Linked DNA regions of Homo sapiens: regions 1 and 3 are each linked to region 2. The links are contacts of gene promoters, found by promoter capture Hi-C in blood cells and fetal thymus (Javierre and others, 2016). All regions are on one chromosome and are shown on one strand. The core of a region is centred on a gene start or on the middle of the fragment in contact, and the rest is flanking DNA. Distances in the headings are between cores, read along the strand shown.

What was found. The method cuts DNA at HindIII sites, captures the fragments that hold promoters and counts their contacts. A CHiCAGO score of 5 or more calls a contact.
Region 1: a fragment that was not itself captured here is called in contact with the fragment with the promoter of IDH3B in region 2 in 2 of 17 cell types (total CD8 T cells and naive CD4 T cells); the score reaches 5.5 in total CD8 T cells.
Region 3: a fragment that was not itself captured here is called in contact with the fragment with the promoter of IDH3B in region 2 in 1 of 17 cell types (erythroblasts); the score reaches 5.5 in erythroblasts.

The regions. Positions count from the first base shown.
Region 1 is chr20:2,509,624-2,512,794 of GRCh38, reverse strand. It overlaps a transcript of ZNF343 not described here. Among named protein-coding and RNA genes, the nearest start is that of ZNF343, 2.3 kb to the right of the region's middle. RefSeq lists an enhancer at 2,459-3,054. The HindIII fragment of the contact is 2,911 bases long and covers 371-3,171 here.
Region 2 is chr20:2,662,656-2,665,983 of GRCh38, reverse strand. It overlaps IDH3B (isocitrate dehydrogenase (NAD(+)) 3 non-catalytic subunit beta), which reads left to right and starts at 1,768. Exons shown (of 12, transcript NM_006899.5): 1 at 1,768-1,831; 2 at 1,979-2,059; 3 at 2,226-2,324; 4 at 2,418-2,538. The coding sequence starts at 1,796. It overlaps IDH3B-DT (IDH3B divergent transcript), which reads right to left and starts at 1,710. Exons shown (of 3, transcript NR_186432.1): 1 at 1,378-1,710; 2 at 480-726. RefSeq lists enhancers at 345-1,130, 2,704-3,328. The HindIII fragment of the contact is 11,157 bases long and covers 1-3,328 here.
Region 3 is chr20:2,466,163-2,469,454 of GRCh38, reverse strand. It overlaps SNRPB (small nuclear ribonucleoprotein polypeptides B and B1), which reads left to right. Exons shown (of 7, transcript NM_003091.4): 2 at 1,697-1,848. Among named protein-coding and RNA genes, the nearest start is that of SNRPB, 3.0 kb to the left of the region's middle. The HindIII fragment of the contact is 1,161 bases long and covers 1,247-2,407 here.

The DNA of each region.
Region 1 (3,171 bases), core at 577-3,076, 150 kb after region 2:
TTTCCATTTGTTGCTTCTGCTTTTGGTGTCACATCTAAGAAACAATTTTTCAGATGCAAGGTAATGAAAATTAACCCTTATGCTTTCTTCTAAGAGTTTTAGCTTTTATATTTAGATCTTTATAGTCTTTGAGTTAATTTTTGTATACAGTGGGAGGTAGAGGTCCAACTTCATTCTTTTACTTGTGGTTATCCAGTTGTTCCAGCATGATTTATTGAAAAGGCTATTCTTTCCCCATTAAATGGTCTCGGCATCCTTGTTGAAAAGCAATTGACCATTTCTCTACAGTTTCATTTCTGGACTTTCAATCCTATCCATTGGTCTATGTCTACCCTTATGGCAGTACCACACTGTTTTAATTACTGAAGCTTTGTATTAAGTTTTAAAATTAAGAAGAGTGAGTCCTCCAACCTTATTCTTTTTCAAAATTGTTTTGGCTACTCTGGGTCCCTTAAAATTCCATACGAACTTTAGGATCAACTTTTCCATTTCTGCAAAAAGGCCATTGGAATTTTGACAAGGATAGCATTGCATCTGTAGATTGCTTTGAGGAATAATGCCATTTTAACAATATTAAGCCTTCCAACCCATGAACGGAGTATGTAATTTCATTTATTTGGAGCTTACACAATTTCTTTCAGCAATGATTTGTAATTTTCAGTGTACAAATCTTGTGCCTTCCTGGTTAAAGTTATTCCTAAATATGTTATTCTTTTTGATGCTATTGCAAATGGAACTATTTTCTTATTTTCAAATCGTTTGTTAGTTATAGAAATGTAGTGTTTACTATATACAAGATCACATCATCTGTGAATAGAGATAGTTTTACTTCTTCCTTTCCCATTTGGATGGCTTTTCTTTTTCTTGTCTAATTGCTATAAATAGACCTTCCAGTACAATGTTGAATAGAAGTGGCAAAAGTAAGCATCCTTGTCTTGTCACTGACCTTAGGGGAAGAGTTTTCAGTTTTCACCATTGAGTATGATGTTAGCTGTGGGTCTGTCATAATTGCATCCCATGCTGTGAATGTAGGCTTTGAGACTGCTGAAGAGCCAGGGAGGAAAGCAGGGCGAGGGGCAAGTAAAACATTGCAAAATTTTCCTAATTTTCTCTTTTATGAATAGACTTCATTTTTAGATGAATTTTATGTCCATAGCAAAATTAAACAGAAGGGACAGAGATTTCCCATTGATGTCACCTCTGTCCTTGTATTTTTAATTCAACTGTTCCATAGATTTTATTCACGTGATGAATAACAGTCACATGGAGCACAGAGGGATGCTGAGGGAGGGCTCCAGATCAAGGGCTGGATTTGAAACTGTCCCAATTGTCCCACAGAATTGATGTTTATGGTTTCTTTGAATAAACAGAAATTGGTCCTTCCAGGCCAGGTGCGGTGGCTCATGCCTGTAATTCCAGCACTTTGGGAAGCTGAGGTGGGAGAATCACCTGAGCCTAGGAGTTTAAGATCAGCCTGGGCAACATGGTGAAACCCCATCTCTACAAAAAATTAAAAAATATTGCCAGGTGTGGTGGCATGTGCCTGTAGTCCCAACTACTCGGGGCTGAGGTGGAAGACTCACTTGAGCCCAGGAGGTTGAGGCTACATGAGCGGTGATCATGCCACCGCACTCTAGCCTGAATGACAGAGCAAGTCCCTGTCCAAAAAAAAAAAAAGAAAGGAAAAGGAAAGAAAAGAAATGGATTCCCCCAGTCTTAAAACTTGAGAAGGTCACATTTGTCCTGAGTTCCTTTCTCAGGAAAACCAAACATCAGGCCTCCCAGATAGTATCAAGGAGCTGCAACTTACCAAATCATTGCATGTGGACAATGAGAACCCACACTCCTCATCAGTCATATTGCCTAACCAATCACCTCCTTCCTGTTCCAACTTACCTCTCCCTAATTTCTGTTTTCCCACACATAGTTACATTTCTTCCCTGCTATACAAACCCCTGATTTTGGTCAGTCAGGGAGATGGATGTGAGACTGATCTCCCATCTTCTTGGCTGCAGCACTCAATTAAGGCCTTCTTCCCTTGCAATACTCGTCTCAGTGATTGGTTTTCTGACTGGCAACCAGCAGGACCTAGACCCAACCCCTGGTGTTTCAGTAACAGATTCTGCCCAGTACTAACACGGCAGCCTCCAAGACAAGAGAAGGGAATTGGTCCTTTCTGTGAAAGGCAGGACAGAATATCAAGAAATGTTTGTCTGTCTCCTGGCTCACAACGGCCTTGGGGCCATGTTCTCTATCTCCTGAGTACTGGAGAACAGAGAAGCCTCAGAAGGCTGATATTGGGAAGGTGAAAAGAAATAAGAAGATGGAAGGAGGTGTTGGAGAAAATAAAAACAAAATCTCCTGCTAACCCAGAAAATCCCCTTCACAAACGTAGAAAAGAAGGAGAACAGTTTTATTACCAAATAATATTGAACTGGACTGGGAAGCACATTGTAGACAATCTGCTAATCAGATGCCAGACAGAAAGAGATCTTACTTTTTATCTAGTTGGGCAGATACAATCTATTACAAACATGTCCTCAAAATTAATGGTAATTTGCCCCCTTGTAAGAGGATTTGACATTGTTTGCTATACAATTTTTCATAATTCATTCTAAATTCACCTGGTAATTGGAGTAGCCATCTACACTAGTTAATTGCCTTTATCAAAAAGAAAAAATAAAACTTTTATCTGTGACAAGCGGGCAGTTACGAGTTTGGAGCTAGGCACCTAAGCTAAACTCCCAAGGTGACAGGGAGATAAGGGCACTATCTTCTTCACTGTTTACATTTCAAAGAGATGGCTCATCAGGCCTTTGGGGGAAACATTCCTCTTTTGTAAAGTTGGCAGGTGCTTATTCAGCCTTTCAAAAGTATCAGGTACATATCAAAGGAGCACTTATACATAGATTTCTCATGGAAATACTCCAAGGGCGTGAGGTCAGGTTTATTTCCCCTTCAGTAACAAGTAAAATTTAATTCAATTTGTATTTGCCATTAAGATTTAAACGCGCCTCCTATGAGCTGAAGGTCTGATCTGCAAACCCCTAATTGCCGTGTTGCAGAAGGTACCAGCGTAGCCCAGTTTTAAAAATATTATTAGTTTTAAAATATATACATTTAACTCCTGGGCTCAAGCCATCCTCCAGCCTCAGCCTCAGCCTCCCTCGG
Region 2 (3,328 bases), core at 519-3,018:
ATTAATAGTGATGTGGAAGCTGGGACGAGGGAGTCTATGGGAGCAAGACGGTGGTGCTCTCTGGTTTTGGTTGGTTTCATGGGATATATGAATGGAAATAGAGGAGTGTGTTATACTAATATTATATTAGCTATAATAACAGCTCTATATTTACCCAGTACTTTTCATTTGTTCAAAACTCTTACACATTACCTAGTTTAATCTTCTCATCCTACTACTATATAGGAGAATGTCGCACCTAAAGGATTGCAGAGGAGGCACAAAGCCTATGCATATTCCCCAAGAATAGAAGCACTGGGAATGCCTTTGCGTTGCCACCTTTTTGGCTGGTTGAGGTATATACGAAGGAGGAACTTATCACAGAGAACCTAGCTAGTGGTTCTTAAATTTCAGTGTGTATTAACGGGGAGCCTGTTAGAGATATATTTTCTGGGCCCCCATCACTGAGATTTGGATTCAGCAAATGAAGTATGACTCACAAGCCTGCACTTTTAACAAGAGCTCTGGTCCATCTGGATAGGTGATCCAAAACCATACTTCCAGAAGAGCGGGTGAGGCAAATCTTCCTGTACCAGTTTGTCTTTAGGTGTGTCAATTGTACACACCTAAAATCGTGACTGGAGGCCGGGCTTGGTGGCTCACGCCTGTAATCCCAGCACTTTGGGAGGCCGAGGCGGGCGGATCACGACGTCAGGAGATCGAGACCACGGTGAAACCCCGTCTCCACTAAAAATACAAAAAAAAAAAAAAAAAAAAAAAAAAATTAGCCAGGTGTGATGGCGGGCGCTACTCGGGAGGCTGAGGCAGGAGAATGGGGTGAACCCAGGAGGCGGAGCTTGCAGTGAGCCGAGATCGCACCACCGCACTCCAGCCTGGGCGACAGAGCGAGACTCTGTCTCAAAAAAAAAAAAAAAAAAATCGTGACTGTAATTGTTTTGAGACGGGTCTCGCCCCGTCTCCCAGGCTGGAGTGCAGTGGTGCCATCACGGCTCACTACGGCTTCCACCTCCCGGGCTTAAGTGATCCTCCCACCTCAGCCTCCTAAGTAGCTGGGACTACAGGTGTGTCACCACGCCTGGCTAATTTTTAAATTTTTTGTAGAGTCGAGGTCTCCCTATGTTGTCCAGGCTTTTTTTAGTTTTTATGATTGTTACTTTAAGGATCAGTCTGAAATTCCCTTTAGTCACACTTACACGCTTGAACTCATTTCTGACACTAGTTATGGGCCTGTCCTGGGGAGTTCAAGTCCGGGACACACTATTAGGGAAATAACTGTCAGAGCAAAGAACAAAACCCTGTAAGAAAAAACTACGAGGCGACGGGTAATACAGAGGTCCTGGGCACTCTCGGAGACTGGCGGAGAAACCCGACACACACCTCCCATGTCTGTACTGTATTCCTCGAGAGCCTGACATACAGGTATTCAGTGAGTACTGGTTAAAAGAATAACAAACGCATTGACACACAAATTTTAACAGCTTCCCAAGGATTTTCTCTCAATCGCTTGTTAAGCTCAGGTCCTCGTCTGATAAACATGACGCTACATTTTTCCCCCTAATGTTATTTTGAAGTTTCGACGTAGATTAAATATGGCGACTGAAAACAAAGCAAGAGACAAAGTGCTTGCGCATCCCATGACCTCCCCACCGGCAAGGAAAAGGAGAAACAGGCGTGAGCAAGCAGTGCTGGTTGGCGCAGAGAGAGAAATACCAGGAACTCAGTACAGGCCGGAAGTCGGGGTACGGGGCCGCGCCAGCTTCAGGCGTCACTTCCCACGCGACTTCCTGCGGGAAACATGGCGGCATTGAGCGGAGTCCGCTGGCTGACCCGAGTGAGGCCCCGGGACATGTCGGGCAGGGGCGGGCGAAGGAGCGGAGAGTTTGTCCTAGGGTTTCCTAAACAGGGCAAAGTCAACTGTAGTGTTCGGGGTCTGGATGTCTCAAAGCTGACCTTACAGGCTTGTGTGTCCCTGTTGCAGGCGCTGGTCTCCGCCGGGAACCCTGGGGCATGGAGAGGTCTGAGTACCTCGGCCGCGGCGCACGCTGCATCGCGGAGCCAGGTATGCACGAATCTGGCTGGGGTCTCTCTTACGACCCTGTCCCTTCCTCGCTGCTCCCTCCCCTGGCTTTTCCCCACCCCTCCCGGGTCTCCCTACTTCTCTACTCCCAGGATCCGTGCTCCCGCCCCAGCTCTATCTTTACTTCTCCCCTCTTCCCCCAATTGAGGCCGAGGACGTGAGGGTGGAGGGCTCCTTTCCCGTGACCATGCTTCCGGGAGACGGTGTGGGGCCTGAGCTGATGCACGCCGTCAAGGAGGTGTTCAAGGTGAGTGGCCTCGGGGATCAGACAGTAGAGGACAGTAGTGTGTTGGAAAGGACTTGGCCTTGACTGTGATGTTTTGGGAACCTGTCTCTGAAGGCTGCCGCTGTCCCAGTGGAGTTCCAGGAGCACCACCTGAGTGAGGTGCAGAATATGGCATCTGAGGAGAAGCTGGAGCAGGTGCTGAGTTCCATGAAGGAGAACAAAGTGGCCATCATTGGTATGTGTGCCCTCTTGCCACTTGTCCATGTGCCATTTAAAATCAAATGACCAAATGTTTATTAAGCCCTTCTCCCCACATGCTATGCAATTATATTAACTCCAGGGCAACCACCATTGGTATTTGGACATTTGTTCCTTCCCATTGGGAGCCCAGGAGTTGAGAGATCATGTCAGCTGTCTATGCAGAAAAGTTCCAGGGGTTCTGAGTCTGTCCTGAGGCTACATCAACTGTCATCAAATCTTATTCATTGCATTTCTGGAATACCACTTTTAGCTGCCCCTTTTCTTTTTTTTTTTTTCCCCTCCCTTCCTTCCTCTTTGTTTCTTCTTGCTCTGTCGCCCAGGCTGGAGTGCAGTGGCGCGATCTCGGCTCACTGCAACCTCCCCGTCCCTGGTTCAAGCAATTCTCCTGCCTCAGCCTCCTGAGTAGCTGCGACTACAGGTGTGCACCACCACACCCAGCTAATTTTTGTGTTTGTTTTGTTTTAAGACAGAGTCTCGCTCTGTCGCCCAGGCTGGAGTGCAATGTTGCCATCTCAGCTCACTGCAACCTCTGCCTCCCGGGTTCAAGTGATTCTCCTGCCTCAGCCTCCTGAGTAGCTGGCTGGTATTACAGGAGCGTGCCACCATGCCTGGCTAATTTTTGTATTTTTAGTAGAGATGGGGTTTCACCATGTTGGTCAGGCTGGTCTCGAACTCCTGACCTTGTGATCTGCCCGCCTTGGCCTCCCACAGTGCTGGGATTACAAGTGTGAGCCACCATGCCCAGGCTAATTTTTGTATTTTTA
Region 3 (3,292 bases), core at 578-3,077, 200 kb after region 2:
CTCCCAAAGTGCTGGGATTACAGCCGTGAGCCACCACACCCTGCCCACTGAAGGATTTTAACCAGCAAAATGACATAAGCTTAGTGGTGTTTAGAAAGATTGCTCTAGCTCTGGCATGTATATTCGATGGGACTGGAAGCAGGGAAACCTGGTAGGATATTGTTTGGATAACTGGTTAGAATAGGCGCTGGATTCATTTTGTCTAGGTTCCAACACAGCTTCCCAGCTGTGAAACTGGGCAAGTTACTTAACCTCTCCTAGCCTCAGTGACCTCATCTGTAAAATAGGGATAATAATGGGCCCAATTTTGGGGATTAAATGAGATGTACTGTGCTTATCACAGTGCCAGATACACAGTGAGCACCCAGTAAACATTAGTTGAGCTGGACCAGTGAATGTTGCCCTAAAGGTTCAGATCCCTTGTGGTTAGAAGCTGGTTAAAATGGTCATTGAATGGAAACTGAACCACCTAACCTGAGGGAGGCTCGCAGTATCTTTGTGTGGAGTCAAGTTTTGTTTTTGTTTTTTTGAGATGGAGTCTTTCCCTGTCACCCAGGCTGGAGTGCAGTGGCATGATCTCAGTTCACTGCAGCCTCCACCTCCCAGGTTCAAGCGATTCTCCCATCTCAGTCTCCCGAGTAGCTGGGATTACAGGCACCTGCCACCACGTGTGGCTAATTTTTGTAATTTTAGTAGAGACGGGGCTTCGCCATGTTAGCCAGGCTGGTCTTGAACTCCTGACCTAAGGTGTTCTGCCCACCTCGGCCTCCCAAAATGCCGGGATTGCAGGAGTGAGCCACTGAGCCCGGCCATGGAGTCAAGGTTTTGATCTGCATATTTGCAGGTTCAGAACTTTGTTGTCTGAGCTCACAGAGATGAACAGATGTCCATAGAAGGCACTTGGTGGGTTAGGACTTGGGTATAGCAGTCAGACTGATGGGAGGATGATATACAGATCAAATGCCAGGTGATTTGTTTATAGAGAGAAATACAACTGCTTAGGGTACCTGACAGTTCACAAAGTGATACCTATATAGTCACTTCTTTATTTTAGCACATTGGAACCCAGGTTATGAAAGCAGAAATGTTTGTTGGGTTAAAGACCATTATATGTCCAAACTGGTTAGCACCCTAACCATCAGAAGTTTCCCTCTGCCAAATATAGTCTTGGAGGCACACTAACAAATTCTTGATATGTGGATTTCATTTTTCACCTTGAAGCTGATCTCCTTCCTGATAACAAGCTTCTTGTTGATTAGATTTTTAGTTTCAGCCCTATTCTAGCTCTTCCTTTACTCAGTGTTTTTAATGAGATTTGAATGTTCCATAGCACTTGAGTCACATATCTATAATCTGCACACTGGTAGATGGCTCTAGTATGTATGCATTGGATTATTTTGGGGACACCCTATACTCTCATCCCTGCAACTGACACGACAAGGAGAAAGGCAATTATAATATGAGAAAGACCGATTTCAAGGGAAGAGAGAATAGCAGATTACTGGGTAGAGGTCAGGGCTAAAACAGGGTGGCATGGGAGAATTCCTAGGAAAAGGCTGTGGGTGGGAGACTGAGCTAAGAATCTGTTGAGAAAGTTGGACACATGGACAAGAACGCCATGGGAAGTTTTGGGGAGGGCCAGAGGTGCTTGGGTCCAAAAGAGCAGAGTCTCATCCCTGTCCATTTCTCCTTGCAGACGGTGGGCAAGAGCAGCAAGATGCTGCAGCATATTGATTACAGGATGAGGTGCATCCTGCAGGACGGCCGGATCTTCATTGGCACCTTCAAGGCTTTTGACAAGCACATGAATTTGATCCTCTGTGACTGTGATGAGTTCAGAAAGATCAAGTGAGGAGTGGACTGTGGGGGGCGGAGACTGGAGGATGGGAATGGATTGAGTGGGTGGGCCAAGCAATAGAGGTGGTGATGTAGCTAGTTGGTTCTTCTCTGTTTATTCTCCAGTTTTAGAGGGCAGACTTAAATGGGGACATTGAACGCTAAGAAATCTTTTTGAGTCCAGCAAACCTTGCTCTCTAGTCTAGCAAAGTACAAGTTGTGAAGGGCTGCTAGGCTTTTTGTTTCTCTCACTTTGCGTGCCCCTGGGTACTGGGGTAAAGGGCTCTCATGTTCTCCCCACAGGTGTGTGAGGGGGGAGAGCTTGAGTTTCTGGCCTCATTGCCTATTTGTAAAGCTGTAGCCTAAAGGGCTCTCCCAATGCAGCCTGGTCTGAAACTGCTTTAAGAAGCCTCTGACCCTCTTCAGGGTAAGTGCTCAGCTCCCCATGTGGGTTTGGGGCCAGTGATTTTTGTTGGCATTTATACAAACAATTGGAGATATTGTCTACTTTGCTACAATTCCGTAAGTTATTGGCTAACTCCCTTGCCTTGAGTCTCACAGATCTTAAGCTTTTGGCCCATTAAAAGATATGATTTAGCTTCCCATCATGTTTTACATTCAAGGCTACTTGAGGCACAAAAAGATGATGTGACTTCCGTGGCCAGCAGCTCTTTTGTCATATGCAGTGTCCATATTATTCTGTCACTCACTTTGAATTCCCTTTGATTCTCCTTGGGGCTGATTTCTTCTGTGACCCAAGGTCAAGAAGTATAGTTTAAAAATGTGGTAGGGATGCCTTGGTGCCAGGTACGTATTAGAGAGGGGCCAACAGATGAGCGTGGAGCTACTCCAAAGTTCCCTCCTGATTATAAAAAATGTTTATTGGAAAATATTTTTGAAAATACAAAGAAGTCTATGAATAGAAACTAAAATACCCCGAAGGGTTTTTTTCTAATTATGAAAGGACAATACATGGTTATTATTTTAAAAAATAAGAAAATGTGAGCCAAAAAAGGGAAAAACTGTCCATCCACAGACAACCAGTTAATATACTGTAAAATATCAAAACAAAATCTTTTGAGTTCTTTTTTTAAATCAGGCTATTTTTTCCCCTTTATTTTTAGGATCTAGCTTTAGCTTTTTTCCCCACTTTCCTATCCTGTTGCAGTTATTTTTCCTACTTCACATTTATATTTTGTTCATCTTTTTCTGGTTGTTGCTTTTTGGGGGTTTCTGTTTTTATGCTTTTGAGGAACAGATATGAAATTTCAATTTCTGTGTATGTGAAATTTCTCTTAACCTTTTCCTTCTATGGCTTCTCCTATTTCTGATGTAAGATGAGGGGCAGAATTATAGGCCTGTGAGGTTGAATTGATATTAGAAGGACACTGCACGTAAGTGAGGTGGGTGGGAGTCATTTGATTGGAATTGTTTAGGCAGCCTCCTGATGTTGGCA